Linked DNA regions of Homo sapiens: region 2 is linked to region 1. Evidence: promoter capture Hi-C in 16 types of primary human blood cells and fetal thymus (Javierre and others, 2016). All regions are on one chromosome and are shown on one strand. The core of a region is centred on a gene start or on the middle of the fragment in contact, and the rest is flanking DNA. Distances in the headings are between cores, read along the strand shown.

The links. The method cuts DNA at HindIII sites, captures the fragments that hold promoters and counts their contacts. A CHiCAGO score of 5 or more calls a contact.
Region 2: a fragment that was not itself captured here is called in contact with the fragment with the promoter of VPS39 in region 1 in 2 of 17 cell types (megakaryocytes and endothelial precursors); the score reaches 5.7 in megakaryocytes.

Annotation. Positions count from the first base shown.
Region 1 is chr15:42,206,753-42,210,155 of GRCh38, reverse strand. It overlaps VPS39 (VPS39 subunit of HOPS complex), which reads left to right and starts at 1,852. Exons shown (of 25, transcript NM_015289.5): 1 at 1,852-2,075. The coding sequence starts at 2,003. VPS39-DT (VPS39 divergent transcript) reads right to left here and starts at 1,755. Exons shown (of 3, transcript XR_932181.3): 1 at 1,472-1,755; 2 at 1,239-1,392. The HindIII fragment of the contact is 2,996 bases long and covers 1,220-3,403 here.
Region 2 is chr15:42,467,058-42,470,460 of GRCh38, reverse strand. The region is part of intron 2 of ZNF106 (zinc finger protein 106); the gene reads left to right. Among named protein-coding and RNA genes, the nearest start is that of ZNF106, 22 kb to the left of the region's middle. The HindIII fragment of the contact is 6,354 bases long and covers 1-3,403 here.

The DNA.
Region 1 (3,403 bases), core at 603-3,102:
AAATTATTTTTTTAGGCTGCTTTGATGTTGACTTGAGACTAGGAAAAAAAAAAGCCCATTGTGTTAAGCGGGAGTGTATAGTTCAAGTTCTATAGCCTGGGCCCTGATAATTCTACTTACAGCTTTCTGTATTACTGGGAATAGATATAGTGTGTCATTTCTTAGGTTCAGAAGAAATTGATAGCTTTGCAGTAATCTGTAAAACAATATAAACCTTAGGGTTTTGGGCCTGAACGAAAAGGTACTAGACCTTCCAGCACAACAGCTGGTAATTCTAAATTTTTAAGAAGGTGATCAGCTTCTATGGTGAAAATCAGCTATAACACAGGATTTGTGTAGCAATTTTCATGTTTTTGACTACTTGAAAGTACTTTTCACTTGATTATCAGAACAGCATTTGGTAAAGATGGGACAAGTATTCCTAATTTACATATGAAGAAACTGATATTGTGTAAAAATAAAATGACCAGGACCAGTTTTTTTGACTTCATATCACAGACTTACCCTTTTTCTTTTACATTTTTGCTTTAAACCCAAATGCTTAATTTTTTGACCTACGATGTTTTCCTAGGGGGAAATGACCAGATATAGATCATTCTTGCAGCCCAAACTTTGTTGTTTTTTAAGTCTTCAAGGGGAATACTAAGGTAACCGCAGACAGTACAGGTCCCAGGTCCTATAGGAGGAAAAGCCATGACACCTTCCTAAAGGAATATTAGGATGTAAGACACAGCTTTGGAAAGTTGAATTGGTAGGAATGTGGTCATCAAATTAAAAGGAGGCTTATTTCACTGACTTCCAAGAGTTAGTGAATCATCTCTTGCCTAAACTCTTGCTACTCAAAATGTGATCCAGGGACCAGCAACATCTGGGAGATTTTTGGTGCTCAACTGAGGGTCTTACTCTGGTCCTACTGAATCAAAAGAGGCATTTTAACAATGTCTCTAGGTGATTTGTATGCACGTTAAATTTGAAAAGCATTGGCCTCAAATGGTGGTTCTCAGGGTAATTTTGCCTCCCAGAGGACATACGGAAAAGAGACATTTTTATACCTCTGTGGGGAAGATAACTGGCATTTGGTGGGTGGAAGTTAGGGATGCTGTTAAACATCTTACATTGTACAGAACATGCCCCCTCCCCCAACAAGAAATTATCCTGTCCTAAATGCCGGTAGTGCTATCGCTGAACAACCCTAACCTAAAATGGTGGTTCTCAAGCTTTTAAGTGCATGGACTCACCTTGGGGTTTATTAAAACATAGGTTGCTGTTCCCTTCGAGTTTCAGATTCAGTAGAACTGGAATGGGCCTGAAACTTTGCATTTCTAACAAGTTCACAGGTGCTGCTGCTACTGCTGTTGTTGCTGGTCTAGAACCACTTTCAGAACCACTGGCCTAGAACAACCATGAAAGCATTAAGGTAAGGTGCTTGTACTAATTGGGATATAATGGTAATACTAAAGCTACCACTTACTGAGAGCTTAGTGGGTGTCAGGTGTTGCTAAGCGCTCACGACACTAGGTCACAGGTATTTACAAAAATTTTGCAGATTAGGAAAGTATGGCATCGAAATATTAAATTTTCTAAATCACAGCTAATTTCCTAATTGGTAGATCTCCGTCTGAGGTCGACGCCAAAGGCCGAGTTTTTAACCATCACGCCCACTGCCTAAAGCAGTTCTAAGATTAAGAGTTTGTTCCTTCTATGGTAAGCCCATGGCTACTCGGGATGGAGTAGCTATGGGTCCAGAGTGACGATGGCAACTCAGCAACAAAACAATTCATTTAGAGTGCACCGGGAGGAAGGGGCGGGACTTCGGCTGCGGAAGAGGCGGGCCTAACTAGCAGGAAGTCCGGGGTTGACGATGGCTGTGTTGTTGAAGGGCCTGTAGCCGGGGGGTTCCTGGCCGGATCCCGGTCTACCCTTAGCCCAGACTCGTTCCGGACCCCAGCCCGGCCCGGAACACTCTGGGCGAGACGGCGGTGGCAACTCTCCCCTTGCCGCCATGCACGACGCTTTCGAGCCAGTGCCGATCCTAGAAAAGCTGCCTCTGCAAATCGACTGTCTGGCTGCCTGGGGTGAGCCGAGGGGCCGCGGGGCCGAGGCGGAGTCAGCACAGGAGCGGTCCGGATCTTTTCTGAGGCCGGGGAAGTGGACAGGCGTCCATCCGTGTGGGCTTCGGTTGGATGCTACACGAGAGGGGCTTAGGATGAGAGAAGGCAGAGAGATGACCACCGGCTATAGACATCGATGTCTGTGGGGCTACTTGGGTGATCCCAGTGATCCAGTCATTTAGGGGAGTTCCCCTTGCTTTTGCTCTCTGTGCAGAGTGGGAGGATGAGCTTTCCTTTTTAGTTGTGCTCAGCTTTGGCCCATTTTGATTCCCACGAAGACTTCATTTTAGAGGGTCAAAGCAGTAAGAAGTTCTCAGCCTGCCAGGGGCTTGAAGTTGTCCAGATGTTTGTGTTGTTTTCTAGATGAAAGTCAACCCTGGTTTTGGGGGCATTGAACAAGTTAACACCATATGCTTTTTTTTCCCCTTAGTGATCATTCGTTCATTTCTCATTCCTGTAGGGAACTCATGTAGTTAGCTAACCTTTGAATCTAGCCAAGCGGTTGATTACCTTATATCCAAAGTGTCCAAGTTACCTAACTGTAGGCGGAAGAGTTTCCAGACTGTCTTGAAACCTAACCCATAAAAACTAGCATAGTCCTTTTGGGATTGACTAGTGCAGAAGGCCGGGACAGACATCTCTTGTGTGCTCTGAAATACAAATGAAGGTTTCAGGGATAACGGTGAACATTGTGCTCTTATCCGTGAGTGACTGGTTTGATACCAGCCGCCAAAGACCAAGGAAATCATTTCTAACTTTCCTCTTAATGTTTAGGTCCTAGAAATCAAGGACCATAAAAAGATGATTCAGATCCCTTAATCAGATCTTATACTGAGCTAGATAGGTAACCATGATGGGCCTTATGGAATCTTGGTGGTGTCTGATACCATGTGCGTCAGCTGTTCACAGTGTCACCGAGTCATCCTTGCAGAGTTCTTGATGACTTCTTCTGTAGGGTTCTTTCACGAAGAATTTTCATGTTAATGTGCACCCTTCCTCCTTTAGCAGCTCTGGGTCTCTTTAAAATCATACCTCCACAGTAAGCAGTTCTAGTCCTTTGGGTTAAGAGGAGAATCCTACTTCCTCCAGACATCTCAAGAAAACCAATTTCTGTCATTAAATGCTCTCATTAAACATTTAAATAGAGGAGGAGAAAAAGTTTTTAAATGAAAGACCTGACACTGCATGAAAGGATTAATTCCCCCATTGCTTCATCAGATATACTTATTAGGTGGCTACACGGGCCATTCTCTTTGCTTGGGACAGTAATACAATGATGAATAAGAAACAGT
Region 2 (3,403 bases), core at 263-2,762, 260 kb before region 1:
TTTTTAAAGCAAGGGAATGGCCTGCTTTAAGTGAGTGGTATGACTTAAGAAAGTAACAAAATGGGTTAGTTGGAAGGGATAACTGATACTTATTTTCAGATAGGACTATGAACAATTGGTGTTGAAGCCATGCTTGTCTCCAATTTCCCAAACTAGTGTAACTCTGGTTTCTCCAAATAAACTATGGAGGAGAAAAGGTTCTAAGTGACTTGAGTATGGGGAAAAGCTGTGTAAGGTATCCCTGAGTATCCTGAGGCCCATTAACATAAAATACTGAGAAGCCCTGGAGTTAAATATATGTGTATAATAGAGATGGAGTCTTACTGTGTTGCCCAGCCGGTCTTGAACTCCTGGCCTCAAGTGTGAGCCACTACACCTGGTCATATTTTTTGTATTATTCAATGTTTTCCACATGTGTTTAACCATGAGTCCCCCCTCCCCTCCAACCAACCCAGCCTTTAAAAATATAATACTGATTAATATACAAGGCCTAAATAGAAGCCTAATACATGAGAAGGAATGCATTTGGGGCTATTACCTTAATCCTGTGCCTGTGGATCTTTTTTCTTTTCTTTCTTTCTTTTTTTTCTTTTTTTTTTTTTGTTGTTGTTTTGTTTCATTTTGAGACAGGGTCTTACCCTGCTGTCTAGGCTGGAGTGCAGTGGAGCCATCTCAGCTCACTGCAACCTCTGTGTCCCAGGCTCAGGTGATGCTCCCGTCTCAGCCTCCTGAGTAGCTGGGACTACAGGCATGTGCTATTTTTTAATTAAAAATTTTTTTTTGTAGGGATGATGTCTTATTAGGTTGCCCACACTGATCTTGAACTCCTAGGCTCAAGTGATCCTTCCACCTTGACCTCCCAAAGTACTGGGCGTAATTACAGGTGTGAGCCACCATGTCTGGCTGAATTTTTTCTAATGATTTTTGAAAGCTCAGTTGTCTCAATGTTTGTATTCATTCCTTGGAGCAGGATGGGAGAAGGTTTTGCATGTAAATTTAGGACAAGATTAGTGAAGTGTTTTAAAAAAAACAAAAGTCACATTAAAACTATTAGTGGGTGATAACATTTTTATAGTAAGAAGAATCAGTTTTTTTGTCAGACAAACCCATTTCAGTGAATGCTGTTTTGGTCAGGAATGGTTTTGTTGTAAGGAACAGAACTCACTTAAATTTAGCTCAAGTAAAGGGGATTAGGCATATTGGTAAGCATCTAAATCAAGGAGGAATTGAATAACAGGAAGCATTGAATAACAGGACTTGAGAAGTTTTTTTTTTTAGACGGCGTTTTGCTCTTGTCGCCCAGGCTGGAGTGCAATGGTGTGACCTCGGCTCACTGCAACCTCCACCTCCTGGGTTCAAGTGATCCTCCTGCTTCAGCCTCCTGAGTAGCTGGGATTACAGGCATGCGCCACCACGCCCAGCTAATTTGTATTTTTAGTAGAGACGGGGTTTCACCATGTTGGTCAGGCTGGTCTCGAACTCCTAACCTCAGGTGATCCACCCGCCTCCGTCTCCCAAAGTGCTGGGATTATAGGCGTGAGCCACCGTGCCCCACCGAAGATGTGTATATTAATCGATTTTTCATTCTATTCTGTCACTAACTTGTCTTAGTTTTCAGGTCCACAAGTGTTAATTTTAGTTAGCGGCCAGTCAGTTGTGGCTAGAAGAGGTCATGTGTAAAGCTACTCTCTCCTTATTTTTTTATTTTTTATTTTTTTTGAGACGGAGTCTTGCTCTGTCTCCAGGCTGGAGTGCAATGGCGCGATCTTGGCTCACTGCAACCTCCGCCTCCTGGGTTCAAGCGATTCTCCTGCCTCAGCCTTCTGAGTAGCTGGGATTACAGGCACGCGCTGCCATGCCTGGCTAATTTTTGTACTTTTAGTAGAGACGGGGTATCACCATGTTGGTCAGGCTGGTCTCGAACTCCTGACCTTTTGATCCGCCCACCTCAGCCTCCCAAAGTGCTGGGATTATAGGCGTGAGCCACCGCACCTGGCCTACTCTCTCCTTATGAAGCATCTGTAGAGCTAGGAAGGAAACGATGGTAATCTTCAGTAAAATTGCCATTTAAAAGAAGTGTTTTGGCTGGGCACAGTGGCTCATGCCTGTAATCCCAGAACTTTGGGAGGCTGAGGTGGGTGGATCACCTGAGGTCAGGAGTTTGAGACCAGCCTGGCCAACATGGTGAAACCCCATCTCTACTAAAAATACAAAAAATTAGCTGGGCATAGTGGCGCATGCCTGTAATCGAGGCTACTCAGGAGGCTGAGGCAGGAGAAACTCTTGAAACCCTGGAGGCAGAGGTTGTCGTGAGCCGAGATCGAGCCGCTGCTCTCCAGGCTGGGCGATAGAGCGAGACTCCGTCTCAAAAAAAAAAAAAAAAAAAAAAAAAGGCGTTTTGAATCACAACCCTGTTTATCACACTATAGTAGATAACTTTAAGTAACAGTGGGTTGTGTTGTATTGTTTTTGACAAATGAACTGTATATAATGAAAAATTTCAATGCACCAAATGCTTACAGTGTGACATGGTGTTTGAAGCATTAGCTTTGGTGTCAGATCTGCCTGGGTTTGAATCCCACTTTGACCACTTGATTATTTGTCACTCCGAGAGGGCAAGACTAAATATTTTGTTTGTTTGTTTGTTTTTTGAGACAGAGTCTCACTCTTGTTGCCCAGGCTGGAGTGCAGTGGCGTGATACCAGCTCACTGCAACCTCCGCCTTCCCAGGTTCAAGCGATTCTCCTGCCTTAGCCTCCCAAGTAGCTGGGATTACAGGCGTTCACCACCAGCCCAGTTAGTGGTTTGGTTTTTTTTTTTGGATTTTGTATTTTTAGTAGAGATGGGGTTTCACCATGTTAGCTAGGCTGGTCTCAAACTCGACCACATGATCCACCTGCCTCAGCCTCCCAAAGTGCTGGGATTACAGGCATGAGCCACTGTGCCCGGCCAAGACTGAATATTTTCACGCTTAACCTTCAATGCCTAGCTCTATTCTTGGCATATAATAAGAATTTGATAAATATTTGGTGAATGAATGAGGTAACTTCTCTGCATTCTTCAGCATGAAGTTAATCATACTCCCTCGGCAGTATTTTGCAGTTCAAGTGAGAAAATGTTTGAGGGACTTCACACGGAATGCAGTAAATAGCAATAACACAACAAGTGTAGTAGCCCTTTATTATTATATATGTGAACAGCCATTCTTTAATTATGGCATACTGGCTGTGTATACTGTAGAGTGACAAAGGGATAGACATTTATAGCTTTTTGAGTTTTGTGTATGTGTATGTGTACATGTGTGCATGTTTTTTCTTTTTTCTTTTTTTGAGACGGAGTCTCGTTCTGTCGCCAGGCTGGAGTACAGTCGCACAATCTCGGCTCACTGTAGCCTCTGCCTCCC